Linked DNA regions of Homo sapiens: regions 2, 3 and 4 are each linked to region 1. Evidence: promoter capture Hi-C in human tissues and cell types (Jung and others, 2019). All regions are on one chromosome and are shown on one strand. Each heading gives the region's core, a stretch centred on a gene start or on the middle of the fragment in contact. The rest is flanking DNA. Distances are from core to core; before and after follow the strand shown. Region 1 holds the start of ZSCAN32 (zinc finger and SCAN domain containing 32). Region 2 overlaps CREBBP (CREB binding lysine acetyltransferase). Region 3 holds the start of MMP25 (matrix metallopeptidase 25). Region 4 holds the start of IL32 (interleukin 32).

Region 1 (4,750 bases), core at 856-3,355:
TCTAGTAGCAGCATCTTCTTCCTTTGTGAAAAAGTCCCCCTCGACCAGGCGTGGTGGCTCACGCTTGCAATCCCAGCACTTTGAGAGGCCAAGGCGGGCGGATCACGTGGTCAGGAGATCTAGACCATCCTGGCTAACAAGATGAAACTCCGTCTCTACTAAAAATACAAAAAAATTAGCTGGGCATGGTGGCACGCACCTGTAGTCGCAGCTACTCGGGAGGCTGAGGCAGGAGAATCGCTTGAACCCGGGAGGCGGAGGTTGCAGTGAGCTGTGATCACGCCATTGCACTCCAGCCTGGGCAACAAGAGCGAGACTGTCTCAAAAAAAGAAAAAGTCCCTCTCATTGGTTCTGGTGGGGATATTAATTACAATACCCACTTCCCCAGAAGTGGGCATATGACACACAGCTAGGCCTATCAAAATTCTTTTCTCAGATTTTACATGAGAGGTAGGGAAAGCTCTTCATTTTCTAGGAATTGGTAAATTGGGCAAATGTAAGATCAGAGTTGTCTCCAACTATGTCCCACTCTCTACTCCACTCTTCCATCACAGGAGTGAGCCTGTTTACAAGAGGACAATATACTCAAGTCTTGACAACATGTTTGGATCTCCAAGGCCAGTTTATGTAAGGCAATATTTTTTTAAGAGTTAATTTTAAAAATAGTTTTATATAATTTAAAATTAATAAATAACTTTTAAAAATAATTTTATTTGTTTTTTTATCTTTAGAGATGGAGTCTCACTCTGTTGCCCAGGCTGGTCTCAAACTCCTGAACTCAAGCAATCCTCCCACCTCAACCTCCCAAAGTGTTAGGATTACAAGTATAAGCCACCATGCCCGACCTTAAAAATAATTTTAAATAGAAGCTAACTTTTGTATTTTTTGTAGAGGTGGAGTTTCACTATGTTGCCCAGGCTGGTCTCAAACTCCTGTGCTCAAGTGATCCTCCCACCTTGGCCTCCCAAAGTGCTGGGATTACAGGTGTGAGCCACTGCACCCGCGAAGGCAGTCTTTTTTAATGAGTTTGTGTTGGTTTTTATCTACTTAAAACACAGATTAAAGCAGATCGTAATTTACATTTTCTCCAGGGGCTGATACACCCTCACCATGTGGTATTAAAATGGATCCAGCATGCACAACAAGATGAATATACTCAGGACTACTGAGCTGTACACTTAAAAATGGTTATGATGGTAAATGTTTTTTAAAAATTAAAGAAATTTTTTTATATTTTAAAAATGGATTTGGGTTCCCTTTTCTCAAGGAACTTGAACTGCCTTCACTTAAATTCTCTTTACATTTCAGTGCTTCTAGAGATAGAGAAATCAAGGGCATTATTATTGTTAGCACTGCTTTCTAGCCAAAAAGAAACTGAGAGCGATGAAGTATCTTGCCTAAAGCATCACACAGCACAGCTCCTAGGCAGCAAGGCCAGGACTAGAACCAGCACCCCTTGCCTTCATTATGTTCATCCTGTGCCTTACCTGGCTGAAGAAGAATTTAATAAAAGCTCTTCTAACTTCATGCAGAAGGCGGAACCTGCACCCTTCTTGACCCCTTTTGACCCCTTACCTCCCACTCATCGTTAAATTTTAAAATGCTGTTCTCTGAAAATTTTACTTCACTCTAGCGATGGCCCAAACACTCGGAAAAAAATGTAGCATGAGGATGGGGAGCCAGGTTGATAGGTTTTTCACTTAGTTAACTATTTATTGAGTACTCAGAACGCACTCGGTGCCAGGGCTAGGCACTGTGGATGAGTAGGGAGTGGGCGAGACAGGGACGAGATGAGCAGGGTCAAGGCCAGGGGGTCCCGGGGCGCCGGCGCTCAGGCTCGGGGTGATCCGCACGGTGGGAGCGGGGCACGGTGATCGCGGCGCGTCTGGGGACGCCCGGCCTGAGGGAGGCTGCCTGTCCCAAGGAGACGCCCATCGGGGCCGGACCCGAACGCCTCGGAGAAGACTCCCAGCGGGGAGGGGCTCCTCGGCCGTCGCAGGGCCCAGCGGCTAATCCCGCCGGCCGCAAGGAAGCGGAGAACTCACCGGACACCAGCACTCGCGACTCCACAAACTCCCTCAGCCTCCGGGCCGGAAGTCAGCGGCGCGATTCGCTCCGCCCATTACGCACGCCCCTGCGCAGGCCCGCAAGCCGAATTGCCGGACTGCAGCTCCCGGGATGCACTGCGACGGTATTGACAGGCGCAGCAACCAATAGACGGTAGAGAATGCCCTTGGCAGGAGGCGGGCCCTGTCAGTAGTTGTCCTCAGCAGCTAGTGGGCGTCTCCGCAGCGAGTGGCATCGGCCCCGCCCCCAGCCCGTGCTCGCCGGTGTCGGGTCCTAAGTCCCTCGGTCTTGGGTTCCCGGAGAGGTGAGTCGGCTGCAGGTGGGTGCGGGGCGCCGGGCTGTTCGGGGTACCGGTGTCGCAGTCGCCAGTCCGAGCTCACACCGGGCGTGGAGTTCAGCTGCGCATCGGGTTGCGGCAGCTTCGCCAGGCCTGGGGCTGGCTGGGCCGCGGGGCCGCCCTGGAGGCCGGAGCCACTGGGCCTGCGGCGCCTCGGCAGCGAGCAGCCGCTTTGCTCGCGTGCAGGAGGCTGTTCGCTACCTCACACCCCCGGCTGGCGCTGTGGCCTCGCTTAGCTCTACCGTTTAGCACCCGGCGACATGCACCCGGTCGGTTTCCGCCAGGATGCGGGAGAGTTGGGGCAAGCTACCTGCGACAGCTTGAACTTTTCCTAGGGATTCCGCTCCACCCGCCGGTTAGAGCGTATTGCTCATTAAATCCGAGACCTGTGTGCTTGCTACTGAAATAAAAGAAGTATTTTTTCCCCAGAGTCCTTTTAGGACGTTATGACTTTTCTCCTTTGCAAGACTGCAAAAAACTGACAAGAAGACAAAACTCTTCCCACTCCCAGGGACCGCGTTGTCTTGAGTTTGGCTAGTAAAGGCTAGCAAGTGAGGCTTTGTCTCTGCATCCCGTTCCCCCTAACATCCTCAGAGAACCTTCGTTTCTAGAATCTTTCTAGTATTCAGAGACTTCTCCAGGGTCATGATCCCAAAGGCTTAACCCGTTTACAAGGAGAGAGTTGTCTCCTGACGCCCAAAATGGCAGCTAAAATGGAGATAACTTTAAGCTCCAACACTGAAGCTTCCTCCAAGCAAGAGAGACACATAATAGCCAAACTAGAAGAGAAACGGGGCCCTCCTCTGCAAAAAAACTGCCCAGATCCTGAGCTCTGCCGCCAGAGCTTCAGACGCTTTTGTTATCAAGAGGTGTCTGGACCCCAAGAGGCTCTCTCCCAGCTCCGACAGCTCTGCCGTCAGTGGTTGCAACCCGAGCTGCACACCAAGGAGCAGATTTTGGAGCTTCTGGTGATGGAGCAGTTCCTGACCATCCTGCCCCCGGAGATCCAGGCTCGGGTCAGGCATCGATGTCCAATGAGCAGCAAGGAGATTGTGACCCTCGTGGAAGATTTTCACAGAGCATCCAAGAAACCAAAGCAGTGGGTAAGGAGGGTCCTCTCCCATCATCCTGGGGATTTCTTTTTCTTTTCTTTTTTTTTTTTTTTCTTTTTTTGAGACGGAATCTTGCTCTTTCGCCCAGGCCCGAGTGCAGTGGCGCTATCTCGGCTCACTGCAAGCTCCGCCTCCCGGGTTCACGCCATTCTCCTGCCTCAGCCTCCCGAGTAGCTGGGACTACAGGCGCCCGCCACCGCGCCCGGCTAATTTTTTGTATTTTTAGTAGAGACAGGGTTTCACCGTGTTAGCCAGGATGGTCTCGATCTCCTGACCTCGTGATCCGCCCGCCTCGGCCTCCCAAAGTGCTGGGACTACAGGTGTGAGCCACCGTGCCCGGCCGATTTCTTTTTCATCTGGGTAATGTTTGGTATCTGGATCTCTCCCTATTTAAGTCTCAGAAGTGGACTGGATGGCTTCAGAAGTTGCTTCCAGCCTCTATCTGGGAACCTATCCTGAGTTATTAACAGGTTTTTAGAAAATCCAACTACTGATACCCAGTGAGGCAACAGAGGACCAAGGTTCTTACCATTCCTTTATGCACCTTGTGTCACCAGAAGTAATTGTAAGGTTCTTAAATCCCTTCTGTCAGCTCTTCCCCCACCCAACTTAGTTTTCCTACTAGCAGAATTCTTAGCAGATAGGGTCACCCTGTTGGGTAGCAGTTGGACTTTGGGGAACTTCATTTCATTGGAAGTTCTAGCTTATTGTCTTTCCAGTGTTTAGCTTATAGTCTTTTTTTTTTTTTTTTTTTTTTTTTTTTTTTTTTTTTGAGATGGAGTCTTGCTGTGTTTCCCAAGCTGGAGTGCAGTGGTGCCATTTCAGCCCACTGCAACCTCTGCACCCCAGGTTCAAGCGATTCTCAGGTCTCAGCCTCCTGAGTAGCTGGGTTTACAGGTGCCTGCCACCACGCCCAGCTAATTTTTGTACTTTTTAGTAGAGAGGGGGTTTCACTATGTTGGCCAGGCTAGTCTCGAACTCCTGACCTCAAGTGATCCTCCCGCCTTGGCCTCTCAAAGTGCTGGGATTACAGGCGTGAGCCACCACACCTGGCCTAGCTTTTTGTCTTTGATTTTTTTTTTTTTTTTTGAGACTGGGTCTCACTGTGTTGCTGAGGCTGGAGGGCAGTGGCACGATCTCAGCTCGCTGCAACCTCCATGTCCAGCTCAAGTGTTCCTCACACCTCAGCCTCTCAAGTAGCTGGGACTGCAGGTACATGCCACCATGCGTGGC
Region 2 (4,750 bases), core at 783-3,282, 470 kb after region 1:
GAAAGCCTGGGCCGAGCATAGTGGCTCACATCTGTAATCCCTAAACTTTGGGAGGCTGAGGTTGAAGGACTGCTTGAGCCCAGGAGCTCAAGACCAGCCTAGGCAACATAGGAAGACCCCGTATCTCTACTAAAAAAAAAAAAAAAAAAAAAATTAGCCAGGCATAGTGGCATGCACCTGTCATCCTAGCTACTTGGGAGGCTGAGGTGGGATTGCTTGAGCCCAGAAGGTGGACATTGCAGTGAGCTGTGATCAAATAAATGCACACCAGCCTGGCGGACAGAGTGAGACCCTGTCTCAAAATAAATAAAAATAAATTTAAAAAAATAGAACAAAGCCTGCATTTCTAATACTAACATTTCCAACAGCTCTGAGATATGTATCAGTCTGAAAGGCACTGATAGTAGAGTTACATAAAATGGGCTACTTAGGGCAAAAAGAGTAAGAAGAGACCATATTTGCCTGGCTACGCACAGTCCATCTCTAGAATACGTAAGAAACAGCTAACACTGGTTGCCTATGGGGAGGGGAATGACCAGTGACCCCAGAAACAGACAGGAGGAAGAGTTTTCACCAATTACTCTGCTTTTTTGGAATTCTGAACCATATGAATATATTATCTACTCACAAGAACTTAAAAAAACTTTTAAAAGAAAATTGTTTGTACAAAAATTTACTAACATCTTAAATAAGAACACTAGTTCCAGTTCTTAAGCTGCTTTTCATGGGGCCCTTTTCCTGCCAAAAACGGGGCTCAGGAGGGGAAAGCATTGTCTACTCTCCCTACAGACCTGAACTTGGATGAAAAAACACACCTTGAAAAAGCTAATCTAGACTTCTGGAAAATAAATCACAGGAGCTCCCCCAATCACTCTGGACACGGGTTTTTTAAAGCTTAATTTTGTTTTATAAGCCCTAAAAAAAAATAATAACCTGGACTCCTAGGTCTGACATTCAAGGCCCTTGGTGATGTTATCTCGCCTTCAGATGCCCAAGCTGATGCTCTACTCACCCTCAATGAGCTCTGGTGTCCTTCCTCCAACAAGCCTCCCTGACCACCCAGCCTGAGGCATCCACTTCCTTCCAGTCAGACATCGAGCTGAGTGTGAAATGCTATAGGCCACGGTGGGCACCACGGGACTGCTCACCCACCACACCACACAACTCAGAGTTCCATGAGGACAGAAGCAGCTTCTGCCACTACTGTCATCACCACAGCCCAGCAGGGTGCCCCACACGTAAAATGTGCTTAAATATTTGCTGAATAAAAGAATGAAGTGGTAGGAGTCAAGACTGGATCCCGGGCCGACCAACCCCCGCAGGGCAGAACCACACCTTTAGTCTCCACCATCTCAGAAGCAAAACCATGAGGCCTCCTAAATTCTGGTAGCCCAGTGAACATAACCCAAAAACTGTCACAAGAGCCAGACCTCCACCCTGCTATGAGTGCTGTTCCCTCTGCCTGGAACAGTACTATCTGCCATCTCCTATTCACCCTCAGGTGTCAGTGCTAACGTCACAGCCCCCGGGGACTTCCAATACCCTTCAAAACAGGCTCAGTCCCCATCTGGTGCCTCAGTCAATGCACAGTATGTCCCCTCCAAGGTCACACCTGACTGCAGTTACCTGTCCAGTATCCATCACCACCCATGAGGGCAGAGATGGGGCCTGTCACATCCCCACTGGATCGCCAGGGCCTACATCACAGCATAACAAATATTTTCTAAATTAGTGAATAATCCTGAACAGTGTGACCTAAGCCGTGAATATTTTTGAAGGAGTCTTTCATCATTTTTAATTTGGAGTCTTGCATCTTTAAAAGATGATCGTTTTAAAGGAACTTTGTCATAAATATCTAGGTGATACGTATCTTAAAGAAAACTCTAGACAAAGAGGATAAGTAAATGTACTTACAGTTGTGCTGTCCAATACCGTAGTGACTAACTACATGTGGCTATCTTCATTTACTCAAACCAGGTAACATTTAAAATTTAGTTCCTAAGTCACACTAATCACAATTCAAGTACTCAACAGCCACACGTGGCTCGTGGTTCCAGTACTGTGTCATATAGACACAGCGTAGAGCCGCCCTCCCAATAACGACCACTGGACAGCGCTGGCTTGGAGGGCATCCCGAGAACACAGGCATCCCCAAACAAGGAAACATCTCAATTCACCCTCTTCCTCCTGGGAAAGAATCCGTTCTCCCCTAAAGTTTCAGTGACTGAGAAAGCCATCAGTGAAAGCAAAACACTTGATTCTCTTGCCATCATTCAAATGATTCCCTCAGAGACTTCTCAACAGAAGTTCAACTACGGGCAGGTGTGCTCTTCAAACAAAAACCGATTCCCACAGTAGTAGAGGAACAACCACAATGACACAGAAAACCTATCAATATGTTATGTCTTTTTGTTATTTTCAATAAAGGTGACGTTCTGAATATGTAAATCAGATTTAAGTAAAGATATCCACAAATCGGGGAAAAATTTTGTCCACCACGGGGTAACTTTTACTTATAAAAAAAAAAAATCACACCAAATCTAGGAGAACAGAAAAACAGTAATCTCCATTAAAAGAATTTCCTACTATAGAATCTGCAGGAGGAGAAAAGTCACACAGTACAGCACAGAGCTGAATCTGTTCCTTTCAAGATCTGTGTAGCTGAGCCCGAGAGGCAATTGAGTTTCACTGGTATTCCTTTCAACCAACCTGACTAAACTGGACAGTGATCCCAAGGCCATTTTCTTCCCAACTCTGTTTTCAATAAAATACTATATTTATAATTTCTCTGCATTTACTTTTCCCTTTTCTCTAAGTCCTAATCTAAATCAAGCCCTTGTTCTGAAGCAATAACTAGAAACAGAGTTCCATTTAATTAAGAGTTCAATTTTCCAATAAAAAACAGTTGAACTGCAAACACAGACGGAGTAAAATGAGTCAAACGATTACCCATTTTGTAAGATTCTCGAATCTTAGTTCGTTTTCTTACAAACTGGTTCCCAAACTGCACTAGAGCTGGCACTGAAAGCCAAACAGGCAGGGGCAGAAGCTTCCCATGTATTCAGTGAGAAGCCTCCTGATTCCGGGTCAGGCTACATCATCTTAGTCCTCACTGGCCCAAGAAGTAGGTGATGGCTAATATTTTCCCATACAATTAAACAATAAAAACAGCTGCCTCAACCTGCTATATGCCAGGCACCCTAGTAGCCCCATGTACCAAGATAATCAAAGTAAGCAGAAGTAGAGCCAGGCACAGTGGCTCCATCTCACACCTGTAATTCCAGCTACTCAGGAGGCCGAGGCAGGATTGCTGAAGGATGGGAGTTCAAGACCAGCTTGGGCAAGCAAGACCCCATTGGAAAGAAGAAAAGTAATGTAAAGAAGGGGAGGGGAAGGGGAAGGGGAAGGAAGGAAAAGAAAGAAAGAGAAAAAAAGAAGGAAGGAAGGAAGGAAAAGAGAAAGAAAGAAAGAAAAAAGAAAGAAAGAAGAGAGAAGAGAAAGAAAAGAAACAAATGGAATACTGCAGGGTAAAAAGCCCCTTTTAGAGATCTCTCTCTCTCTCTCTCTCTCACTCACACACACACACACACACACACACACACACACACCCCACCCTGCAAAACTCAAATGTGATGTCACCAGCCCAAGTCACAGCGCTGCCGAGCTGGGAGCTGGGACTCACAGTCTACTCTGAGCAGGAGCCAGGGCTCCCTCCTCAGCACCACACTGACCGCCTCCCCGTATAAAAAGCTGACATTTCCTTCAACTGTGACTCACAGTTAGAAGGTTCTACTTTTAATCAGGTGACAAATACTCAAAATATTTTAATCCAAAGCAACTGGGTCAAACTCGTAGAGTCTATAATTGTCTAAGCAAACCCTAATTACCTGATAAATTTCTATAGCTCCTGAATGTCCTCATTCAGTTTGTAATCAAATACCCAAATCTCCTTATTTAAATGTTGTACAAGCCTTCTCTACATGTTATCATACAGAACAGTGACTTATTTTTCTATTTCACTGGTTATTTTAACCATAAAGTTAAAACATGTTTAGGTGGTGCAGTTTTAATAAGAAAAATCCAAACTAGGGGGAGGAGAAGCAGCTTGTGAATTATAAAAAGATTTGCTTTACAACAGAATTGTACAACTCCACTACACAACTACTTTTTCTCCTTACCACAGATTATGCAAATTCGAAAGGTTGAATTAGGTGCAACTGGAAAATATACCTACTGTATACAATATAGTACAGGCATATTAGAAAGGCAAATTAAGACATTTTCAAACAATAGCAGACAGTACAACTAGAAATGGGAAAGTAAAGTCAGATTTAATCATGTAGAATTATTTTCCCCATTAGATTTTACTATTCTTAGCAATGGTTCAACTAAACAGTCTTTTGATTAATGGAAATGAAACACCGGGGAAAATGTCACACGGGATAATATCCAAATCTTTCTTAAGGGTAAGTTTTAAAAGGAATTCAACTTTTAGAGACAGAGCTCAAAAATAGCCTTGCTTCCTAAATTTAGAACCAGAAAACACCCTAAAGGCAGTATTTTAAATACAGCCACAGTCACCGCCTATATTGTCTAGGAACTTAATAAAAAAAACTTTAAAAAGAGAGGGGCCACTTTTGTTTACTTCCATGCCTTTCACACAGCCTTGCCCAATTTGATTTGTGTGCCCTTGCTCAAATCTCTTCAAGTCACAGCTCAAATGGCAAAGACCTGACCACTCCAGGACGCC
Region 3 (4,750 bases), core at 838-3,337, 350 kb before region 1:
AATCTGATGACAAACATGGGATCTGTTATGGAGTAAATTGTGCCCTGTCAATATTCTTATGTTGACCATTACAGGAATGGTGGCTCACGCCTGTAATCCTAGCACTTTGGGAGCCTGAGGCAGGAGAAATGGTTGAGCCTAGGAGTTCAAGAAAGCCCTGAGCAACACAGGGAGGCCCCGTCTCTACCAAAAGAAAAGAAAAAGAAAAAAAAAAAAGAAAGAAAGAAAAAACATGGGCATGGTGGCTTGGGCCAGTTGTCCCAGCTACTTGACAGGCTGAGACAGGAGGATTGCTTGAGCCTAGGAGTTCCAGGCTGCGGTGAGCTATGATCATGCTACTGCTGCACTCCAGCCTGGGAGACAGAGCGAGACCCTGGCTCAAAACAAACAAACAAACAAAAAAACCAAAACCAACCAAACAAACAAAAAAAACAAACCAGAGAGAGAAGAAGAATTTGTATGTTAAAGCCCTAACCCCCAGTACCTCAGAATGTGATTATAGTTAGAGATAGAGCTGATAAAAAAGTGACTAACTTAAAATGAGGCTTTTAGGGTGGCCCCGATGATTGACTTCTTACAAGAGGTCAATGACCAGGCGCGGTGGCTCACGCCTGTAATCCCAGAACTTTGGGAGGCCGAGGCCGGCAGATCACGAGGTCAGGAGATGGAGACCATCCTGGCTAACACGGTGAAACCCCGTCTCTACTAAAATACAAAAAAATTAGCCGGGCGTGGTGGCGGGCGCCTGTAGTCCCAGCTACTCGGGAGGCTGAGGCAGGAGAATGGCGTGAACCAGGGAGGCGGAGTTTGCAGTGAGCCGAGATCGCGCCACTGCACTCCAGCCTGGGCGACAGAGCGAGACTCCGTCTCAAAAAAAGCAAAACAAAACAAAACAAAACAAAACAAAAGAGGACGATACTTCTGGGGTGTGCAAGCGCAGGGGGACGGCCGTGTGGGGAAACAGCAAGAGGACGCCCATCTGCCTGCCCAGGAGGAGGCATCCGGAGAAACTAGCCCCTCAGGCACCTTGATCTTGGCCTTCCAGTTTCCAGAACTGTGAGAACGTAAACTTCTGGTTGAGCCTCCCAGTCCTTGGTGTTTTGTTCTGGCGGCCCCAGCGAGCGGGCGCGGGATCGCAGTGTTTGCCTTTGCATCTCCAGCTCCGCATCCTGCTCGCTGTTTATTTTGTGAGCAGCTCCGGCGGCTGCCCCTGAACTGCTCCGAGACTGAGCAGTTTAACTCACACTCGCCCACCCGCCCTCCCCAGGAAGCCTCCCGCCCGCTTCCTCCAGTTCCTTCCCCACCTGTCCGGCCTCCTAGCCCGGTGCTCTCGGCGCGGGAGGAGGCGGCTCGCAGACCCCCAGGTCTCGGCTTCCCGGATCTCCCCCGCCTACTCACTCCCCGGTCCCCGGCTCCCGGCACTGGCAGGCGCTGTGGCTTCCGCGCAGTGGCTGCAGCATTTAAATGTCCGGCACTTAGGGAGAGGGGTGCAGTCGCGGAGCAGCCGCTGCTCCCGGCATCTAGAGGGGCCCAAACCCCCGCGTGCCCAGGCCGAGCCCCGCGCGCAGCCCACGTGGGCTGAGGGACTGAGTATTGGCCCTCGGGCAGCTGCAACCGCGCACAGCTGGAGCTGGCGGGGCGGAGGGCGGGCCGGGACCCCGCGGGGAAGGAGGCTTCCTTCCCAGCCTCCTGCTGCCCGGAAATCCCCCCGGCTCTCAGACAACCTGCCCCACGGGGTCCTGGGGGGAAGGAGAGGGGCGGGATACAGGGATGGGGAGGGCTGGCTGAGCCGAAGGCCCGGGCCGCCCTCCCCCAGGCCGCGCGGCTTCGAGAAAGCAGAAGCGAGCCCTGCCCCGGGGAGTCCCACAGGAGCGGGGATCTGGGAAGAGAAACTTGCGGACGAGGGAGTTAGAGCCGTGGACCCCCGGCCCCCGCCCGGGCGTCCTGCGTCGGAGGAGGGTCTCTGGGTCGGGCAGGGGCCACCTCTTGGCCCGCCCCTTGTCGCTGGACGTCCGAAGATTGGGCCATTTCCCTTGCCGCGCCCTTACCGCATATCGGGGTGCGCCCGGCCCGGCCCGGCCCGCCCCACCCAGCCCTCCGCTCGCGCCCGGAGAGGAGGGGCCGCTGGCGCAGCGCCCCGGGACCCCGAGAGGCCGCCGCGGCACATCCAGACCTCCGCCGCTCCCGCGCCCTCTCAACCATCCTGGGATTCCCGGGCCCACCCGACCCAGCGGCGCGACCCTGGCCCTCCGGGACCCTCCGCTGACTCCACCGCGCACTTCCCGGGACCCCCACACACATCCCAGCCCTCCGGCCGATCCCTCCCTACTCGGTGCCGGGTGCCCCCCGCCCTCTCCAGGCCCGGATCTCCTCCCCCAGGTCCCCGGGGCGGCCCCAGCCAGGCCCCCTTCGAACCCCGCCGGCGGCCCGGGCTGGGGCGCACCATGCGGCTGCGGCTCCGGCTTCTGGCGCTGCTGCTTCTGCTGCTGGCACCGCCCGCGCGCGCCCCGAAGCCCTCGGCGCAGGACGTGAGCCTGGGCGTGGTGAGCGCGGGGTCCGCAGGCTCCTGGGGTCTGCAGAGAGATTGGGAGAGGGAAGCCGGGCCCGGACTCCTGGGTCCGGAGGAGGCAGGGGCCAGATTCCAATATCCAAAGAGTGACTGAGGATGGGGTCTGTGCTCCCGGCTTCTTGGGTCTGTCGGGAAGTTTGGGGCTGGGATTTGGAGCTCTGGAAAGGAGCTGAGGTGCGGAGCTGAAGTCCAGACAAGACTGGCAAACCCGGGACTGAAGCGGGGACCTATGGAGGGGAGCAGGCAGGCATCCGGGGCTGGGGCCCTGGGCTCTGGGTGCCTGGGAGGGGCAGGGCTGCCAGGATGGTGGTGGGCAGAGAGAGCCCATACTTTTCACCCAGCCCGCTTCACCTGCCCCCTCCGATGCCCTAGGACTGGCTGACTCGCTATGGTTACCTGCCGCCACCCCACCCTGCCCAGGCCCAGCTGCAGAGCCCTGAGAAGTTGCGCGATGCCATCAAAGTCATGCAGAGGTTCGCGGGGCTGCCGGAGACCGGCCGCATGGGTAGGTGGCCCCCACCCCTCCCCAGCCCTGCCTCTGCACCCAGCCTGTCCACCGCCCAACAGCCTTTAGACCTCAGTGTGCTCCTGGAACACGGAGCTGTGAAGATGCTGATCTCAGGCCCCAAACCCAGAGGGCCTCAGGCGTTCATCTTTCCATAAGCATTTATCAAGAACCTGGTGGCTCATGCCGGTAATCCCAGGGTTTTGGGAGGCGGAGACTCAAGGATTGCTTCAGGCCAGGAGTTTGAGACCAGCTTGGCCAACAAAGTGAGACCCCCCCACTCTCCAAGGATTTTTTTTTTTTTTTTTTGAGACGGAGTATCCCTCTTTTTGCCCAGGCTGGAGTGCAATGGTACCATCTCGGCTCACCGCAACCTCTGCCTCCCAGGTTCAAGTGATTCTCCTGCCTCAGCCTCCTGAGTAGCTGGGATTACAGGCACGCACCATCACACCAGGCTAATTTTGTATTTTTAGTAGAGACGGGGTTTCTCCATGCTGATCAGGCTGGTTTCGAACTCCTGGCCTCAGGTAACCCGCCGGCCTTGGCCTCCCAAAGTCCTGGGATTACAGGTGTGAGCCACCGTGCCCAGTCCTCTAAGGATTTTTTTAAATTTAGCTGAGTGTAGTGGCATAGGCCTGTGGTCCCAGCTACTCAGAACGCTGAGATGGGAAAATTGCTTAAGCCCAGAAGTTCAAGGCTGCAGTGAGCTATGATTGCACCGTTGCACTCCAACCTGGGCAACAGATGGAGACCCAGTCTCTAACCAAATATACTTTGAGCATCTCTTAGATGCCACGCCCTTTCAGCTCCAATGGTATAGTGATAAATAAAGTAGGTAAGGTTCCTGCTCTCATGGAGCTAACTTTCTCGAGGGAGAGAGAGAGAGACAGATCAAGAACATAAATATGAAAGATAATTTCAGATGGCGGTGAGTGTTTAGAAAAAAATAAAATGCTATTGGCATTGAGGGGCTGGTCTGGTTAGGGCAGGTCCCTCTGAAAAGTGTCATATGAGCTGAGACCACAAAGAGGAGGAACCAGCCATGGGAAGATGTGGAAGAAGAGTGTCCCGGGCAAGTGCAAAGACCCCACGGCACGCAGAAGCTTGTGTGCCTGGAGCAAAAGGAGCATTGAAGAGCTCTGGCGAGAGGCCTCAGCCAAGGGCCCTGAAAGGTGATTAGGGTTGATTCCAAGGGTGATTAGCAACCACCTAAGTGTTCTCAGAAGGGAAGCAATTCAGAACTTGGTATGACTTGCAATTTTTTTTTTTTTTTTTTTAGACAGAGTCTCACTCTGTGGCCCAGGCTGCAGTACAGTGGCGCAATCTCGGCTCATTGCAATCTCTGCCTCCCGGGTTCAAGTGATTCTCCTGCCTCAGCCTCCTGAGTAGCTGGGACTACAGGCATCCGCCACCATGCCCAGCTAATTTTTTTGTATGTTTAGTAGAGACAGGGTTTTGCCATGTTGGCCAAGCAGGTCTCGAACTCTTAGCCTCAAGCGATCAGCCCACCTTGGCCTCCCACAGTGCTGGGATTACAGGCATGAGCCACCGTGCCCGGCTTTGACTTGCAGTTTTAAGCTTCCTCTGGGTCCTGATGGAGAATGGAAGGCAGGAGCCCTGAGACCAGGCAGAAGACGGCTGCGGAGTCCACACGAGGGATGGTGGCAGAAGGATGG
Region 4 (3,646 bases), core at 1-2,500, 340 kb before region 1:
AGTAGCTGGGAATACAGGTGCCGGCCACCACGCAAGGCTAATTTTTGTATTTTTAGTAGAGACAAGGTTTCACCATGTTGGCCAGGCTGGTCTAGAACTCCTGACCTTAGGTGATCTGCCCGCCTCGGCCTCCCAAAGTGTTGGGATTACAGGCGTGACCCACTGCGCCCGGCCTAGGGTGGACCCTATTTCAATATGACTGGTGTCCTTTGGAAAGGGGAAAGGGGGACAGTCACACCCAGGCAGAACGTGATGAAGATGAAGATGGCCATCTACAAGGGCAGGAGAAACCTGAACAGAATCCCAGCTCCGGGCCCTCAGAAGGACCCCACGCTGCCCACATTGACCTTGGACCTCCAGCCTGCAGATCGTGAGGGAAGAGACGTCTTCGACTTAGGGCCCCTTGTCGTGGTACTTCCTTAGTTTGGCCCCAGGAAACCATCCCAAAGGCAAGGGCGTGGTTGTGCTCAGCTGGGGGAAGGGGGCTGGGGGCCGTGAGGAGGAGGTGGGAGGCCCAGCCAGGCTGGAGGGTCAGAACCCGTGGAGCTAGAAGAGCCCGTAGGGGAGCCCCAAGATTGCTGAGACCAGTGACCTTCGGCCCCAGATGGCCTTGCCTTGGCCCAGAAGGGTCAGAAGGACCTGGTCAGCCAAGCTCAGACAGCCGGCAGGATGCCTTCCACCCTGCAGAGGGTCCTATCTTGTCCCACAGGTAGATCTACATCACCACTAGCCACCCCTCCAACGTGCACAGGCCCCTGCCCTCACGGCGCCCCTCTTAGGTCCGGCAGTTCCTGCCTCCTTCTGATCCAGAAGTTTCTCTGGCCTCTGGAGCCGGGGCACACCTCATGCAAGGACAGGGTCCAAATTCCTTTGTCCTTGGATCCCACTTGGCTGACGTCACCTTCCTGTACTCAGGGAGTTTCCCCAGCCAGCTGTCCCGAGTCTGGACTTTCCCTCTGCCCCTCCCCACTCTCAGGCTGGTGGGGTGGGGAAAGCAGCCCATTCCTGGGCTCAGAGACTCCCACCCCAGCTCAGAGGGAGCAGGGGCCCAGCCAGGGACGGACCCTCATTCCTCCCAGGGACCCCAGACCTCTGTCTCTCTCGGGTAAGTCTCCATCTCTGTCTGTCTCTGTCTCTGTCTCTGTCTCTGTCTGTTTTTCACGCACTCAGCAAGGCCTCCTGCCCTGAGAGAGGCTCCGCCCACTACCCCCCACTTTCCCCATAAAACCAGCTGAGTATTTGTGCCAGGAAGACTGCGTGCAGAAGGTGACTGTCTCAGTGGAGCTGGGTCATCTCAGGTGGGGAGTTGGGGTCCCCGAAGGTGAGGACCCTCTGGGGAGGAGGGTGCTTCTCTGAGACACTTTCTTTTCCTCACACCTGTTCCTCGCCAGCAGGCCTTGGCTCCTTGAACTTTTGGCCGCCATGTGCTTCCCGAAGGTGAGTGAGAGGCTGCGTGTGCTTTTGTGGGCATGTCTGAAAACAGACCGTAAGGGTGCGGGTGCCCTCAGTATTTCCCGAGGTGCCTGTGTGTCAGGGCTCAGTCAGGGGCACCCAGCGGCAGGAGGATAGTGATGGGGTGAGAGTGTCAGTGGAGGCGCTGGAGGTCATATGTGTCGGGGGCGCTGGAGAACGGCAGGGGTGTGGATGAGAGGGAGCACCTGTCCCAGGAGCCCTTCACAGCCCGGAAAGCCCGGGGCAGGGGTGGGGCAGGGCTCTGCTGGAAACGACTCGGAGAATGCTTCTCTCAGAGGCCGGCTCAGCTGGGTGGGCCCAAGAGCAAGGCCTGTGTGGGTCCTGGTGTCTCTTCCTCCTTTCCTGGGTTCCCTCCGACCTCCCATCCTCTACCACTGCCCCACCGCAAATGCTAGGCCCACCACACCCTCCAGGGAGCTCTTCGGCCTGTGACAATAGGGGTTTCCATGATGTGGCCTGGCTCAGGTTCAGGACAGTGACCCGGAGGACACATGGCTCCCGCATGTCGGCACGGTGCTGCTTTCACCCTGGTTCCTGGGAAATCAGGCTAGCGGGATGGGACCATCGCTGCCTGAAAGTGTGCAGACAGCTGCCCTGCCCAGAATATGTCCCCAGGCCCTGCGCACTCTGTGGGTGACTGTCACCACTCTATAGTGGGGGAAACCAGGCATGTCACCCCCGAGACTAGGCCCTTGACGTGGGGGCTCAGCGGGGATTCTGTGGGGTGCCTCTGGCCTCTGTGGATGCAGCCACGTGTCTGCAGGCAGGAATGGCCCGGGACCTGTGGGTCTGCATGTTGGCAGTCGGGAAGAGTGGCAGGTTGTAGGGTGGACCTACCTGGCACCCCAAATATTAATCAGCTCATCAGAGAGGAATGGCTGCTGTTACCTTCTCAATTGTCATGTCCCTAAACATTTTTTCCTTGGCCAACTCTCACCTGGGACCATAGTGGTTGTGGGAAACCCAGCTGAGCCAGCCTGCTCCAGGACAGTGTCCATCCTCCCGTGTGTGTACATGGGGGGGTGTGTGTGTGCAGGGAGGACACCCCGGCCCACGCAGGCCCTGCTCTTGTGAGGAGGGGTCACCTAGGCCCACGCAGGCCCTGCTCTTGTGAGGAGGGGTCACCTAGGCCCACGCAGGCCCTGCTCTTGTGAGGAGGGGTCACCTAGGCCCACGCAGGCCCTGCTCTTGTGAGGAGGGGTCACCTAGGCCCACGCAGGCCCTGCTCTTGTGAGGAGGGGTCACCTAGGCCCATGCTGGCCCTGCTCTTGGGCCTGCCCAGCTGAGCCGGCTCCTGAGAGAAGCGCTTTCTGAGTCGTTTCGAGGACAGCCCTGGCCGGTCTTTCCAGGCTGTGAGGGGCTCCTGGGACTGCTGTCTCCTCTTATCCTGTACCTCTGCCATGTGTCTCTGTGTGTGTGTGTGTGTGTGTGTGTGTGTGTGTGTGTGTATAAATTATCCTGGAGGAAAGGTTAAGGTGACACATGGAGACTGAGTGTCACCGTTATTTCCGCAGGTCCTCTCTGATGACATGAAGAAGCTGAAGGCCCGAATGGTAATGCTCCTCCCTACTTCTGCTCAGGGGTTGGGGGCCTGGGTCTCAGCGTGTGACACTGAGGACACTGTGGGACACCTGGGACCCTGGAGGGACAAGGATCCGGCCCTTTGGTGCCAACTCTGCCTCTCTTCACAGCACCAGGCCATAGAAAGATTTTATGATAAAATGCAAAATGCAGAATCAGGACGTGGACAGGTGGGTGGATTTCCCCTCAGGCACCAGGTCACATGTCCCCGCCCCCAGGCACTCCACCCTGTGTGGGGCTCAGGGTGAGAAGGATGAAGAGGGACCCACAGGCTCCCTCACCCCTTACCGTGGGCAAATGCTTGCACCTGGGTGGCAGTGAGTGGGCGGGTGGGGGATCTGGACGCCCGGGGAGACTGAGGGAGGCATCCAAGCCCCAGGGCTCCTTGAGGAAACAACAGGGGTGCCAGACGTGGCCCGGGCCCCTGGCTGGGCCCAGTTCGGGGTGTGTGGGAGCTGAGGACTCACTGGGCTTGAGGACTGACTGATGTGGGGTGCAGAGGAGGCTTGGGCCTGGAACCGAGTGCTTTGTTCCTAACAGGTGATGTCGAGCCTGGCAGAGCTGGAGGTGAGCCGTGGCCTCCCCCTCCACC

The links. The method cuts DNA at HindIII sites, captures the fragments that hold promoters and counts their contacts. A contact is called where the count stands out against the background at its distance.
Region 2: a fragment that was not itself captured here is called in contact with the fragment with the promoter of ZSCAN32 in region 1 in 2 of the 25 tissues and cell types used here (dorsolateral prefrontal cortex and spleen).
Region 3: a contact is called between the fragment with the promoter of MMP25 here and the fragment with the promoter of ZSCAN32 in region 1, in 1 of the 25 tissues and cell types used here (spleen).
Region 4: a contact is called between the fragment with the promoter of IL32 here and the fragment with the promoter of ZSCAN32 in region 1, in 3 of the 25 tissues and cell types used here (IMR-90 fibroblasts, small bowel and spleen).

Annotation. Positions count from the first base shown.
Region 1 is chr16:3,398,899-3,403,648 of GRCh38, forward strand. It overlaps ZSCAN32 (zinc finger and SCAN domain containing 32), which reads right to left and starts at 2,106. Exons shown (of 7, transcript NM_001284527.2): 1 at 2,047-2,106. It overlaps ZNF174 (zinc finger protein 174), which reads left to right and starts at 2,317. Exons shown (of 3, transcript NM_003450.3): 1 at 2,317-3,508. The coding sequence starts at 3,107. It overlaps LOC105371059 (a long non-coding RNA gene), which reads left to right. Exons shown (of 4, transcript XR_007064949.1): 3 at 1-628; 4 at 733-771. RefSeq lists silencers at 1,744-1,893, 2,444-2,663 and an enhancer at 1,867-2,366. The HindIII fragment of the contact is 10,964 bases long and covers 1-4,228 here.
Region 2 is chr16:3,867,627-3,872,376 of GRCh38, forward strand. All of the region lies in intron 1 of CREBBP (CREB binding lysine acetyltransferase), which reads right to left. Among named protein-coding and RNA genes, the nearest start is that of CREBBP, 11 kb to the right of the region's middle. RefSeq lists a silencer at 3,582-3,876 and an enhancer at 4,413-4,750. The HindIII fragment of the contact is 4,672 bases long and covers 1-4,368 here.
Region 3 is chr16:3,044,474-3,049,223 of GRCh38, forward strand. It overlaps MMP25 (matrix metallopeptidase 25), which reads left to right and starts at 2,088. Exons shown (of 10, transcript NM_022468.5): 1 at 2,088-2,543; 2 at 2,942-3,074. The coding sequence starts at 2,445. RefSeq lists enhancers at 1,041-1,120, 2,969-3,548 and silencers at 1,561-1,760, 1,801-2,090. The HindIII fragment of the contact is 14,233 bases long and covers 1-4,414 here.
Region 4 is chr16:3,064,390-3,068,035 of GRCh38, forward strand. IL32 (interleukin 32) reads left to right here and starts at 1,251. Exons shown (of 7, transcript NM_001376923.1): 1 at 1,251-1,298; 2 at 1,395-1,437; 3 at 2,988-3,026; 4 at 3,165-3,224; 5 at 3,595-3,621. The coding sequence starts at 1,423. RefSeq lists enhancers at 745-1,054, 3,393-3,646. The HindIII fragment of the contact is 16,762 bases long and covers 1-3,646 here.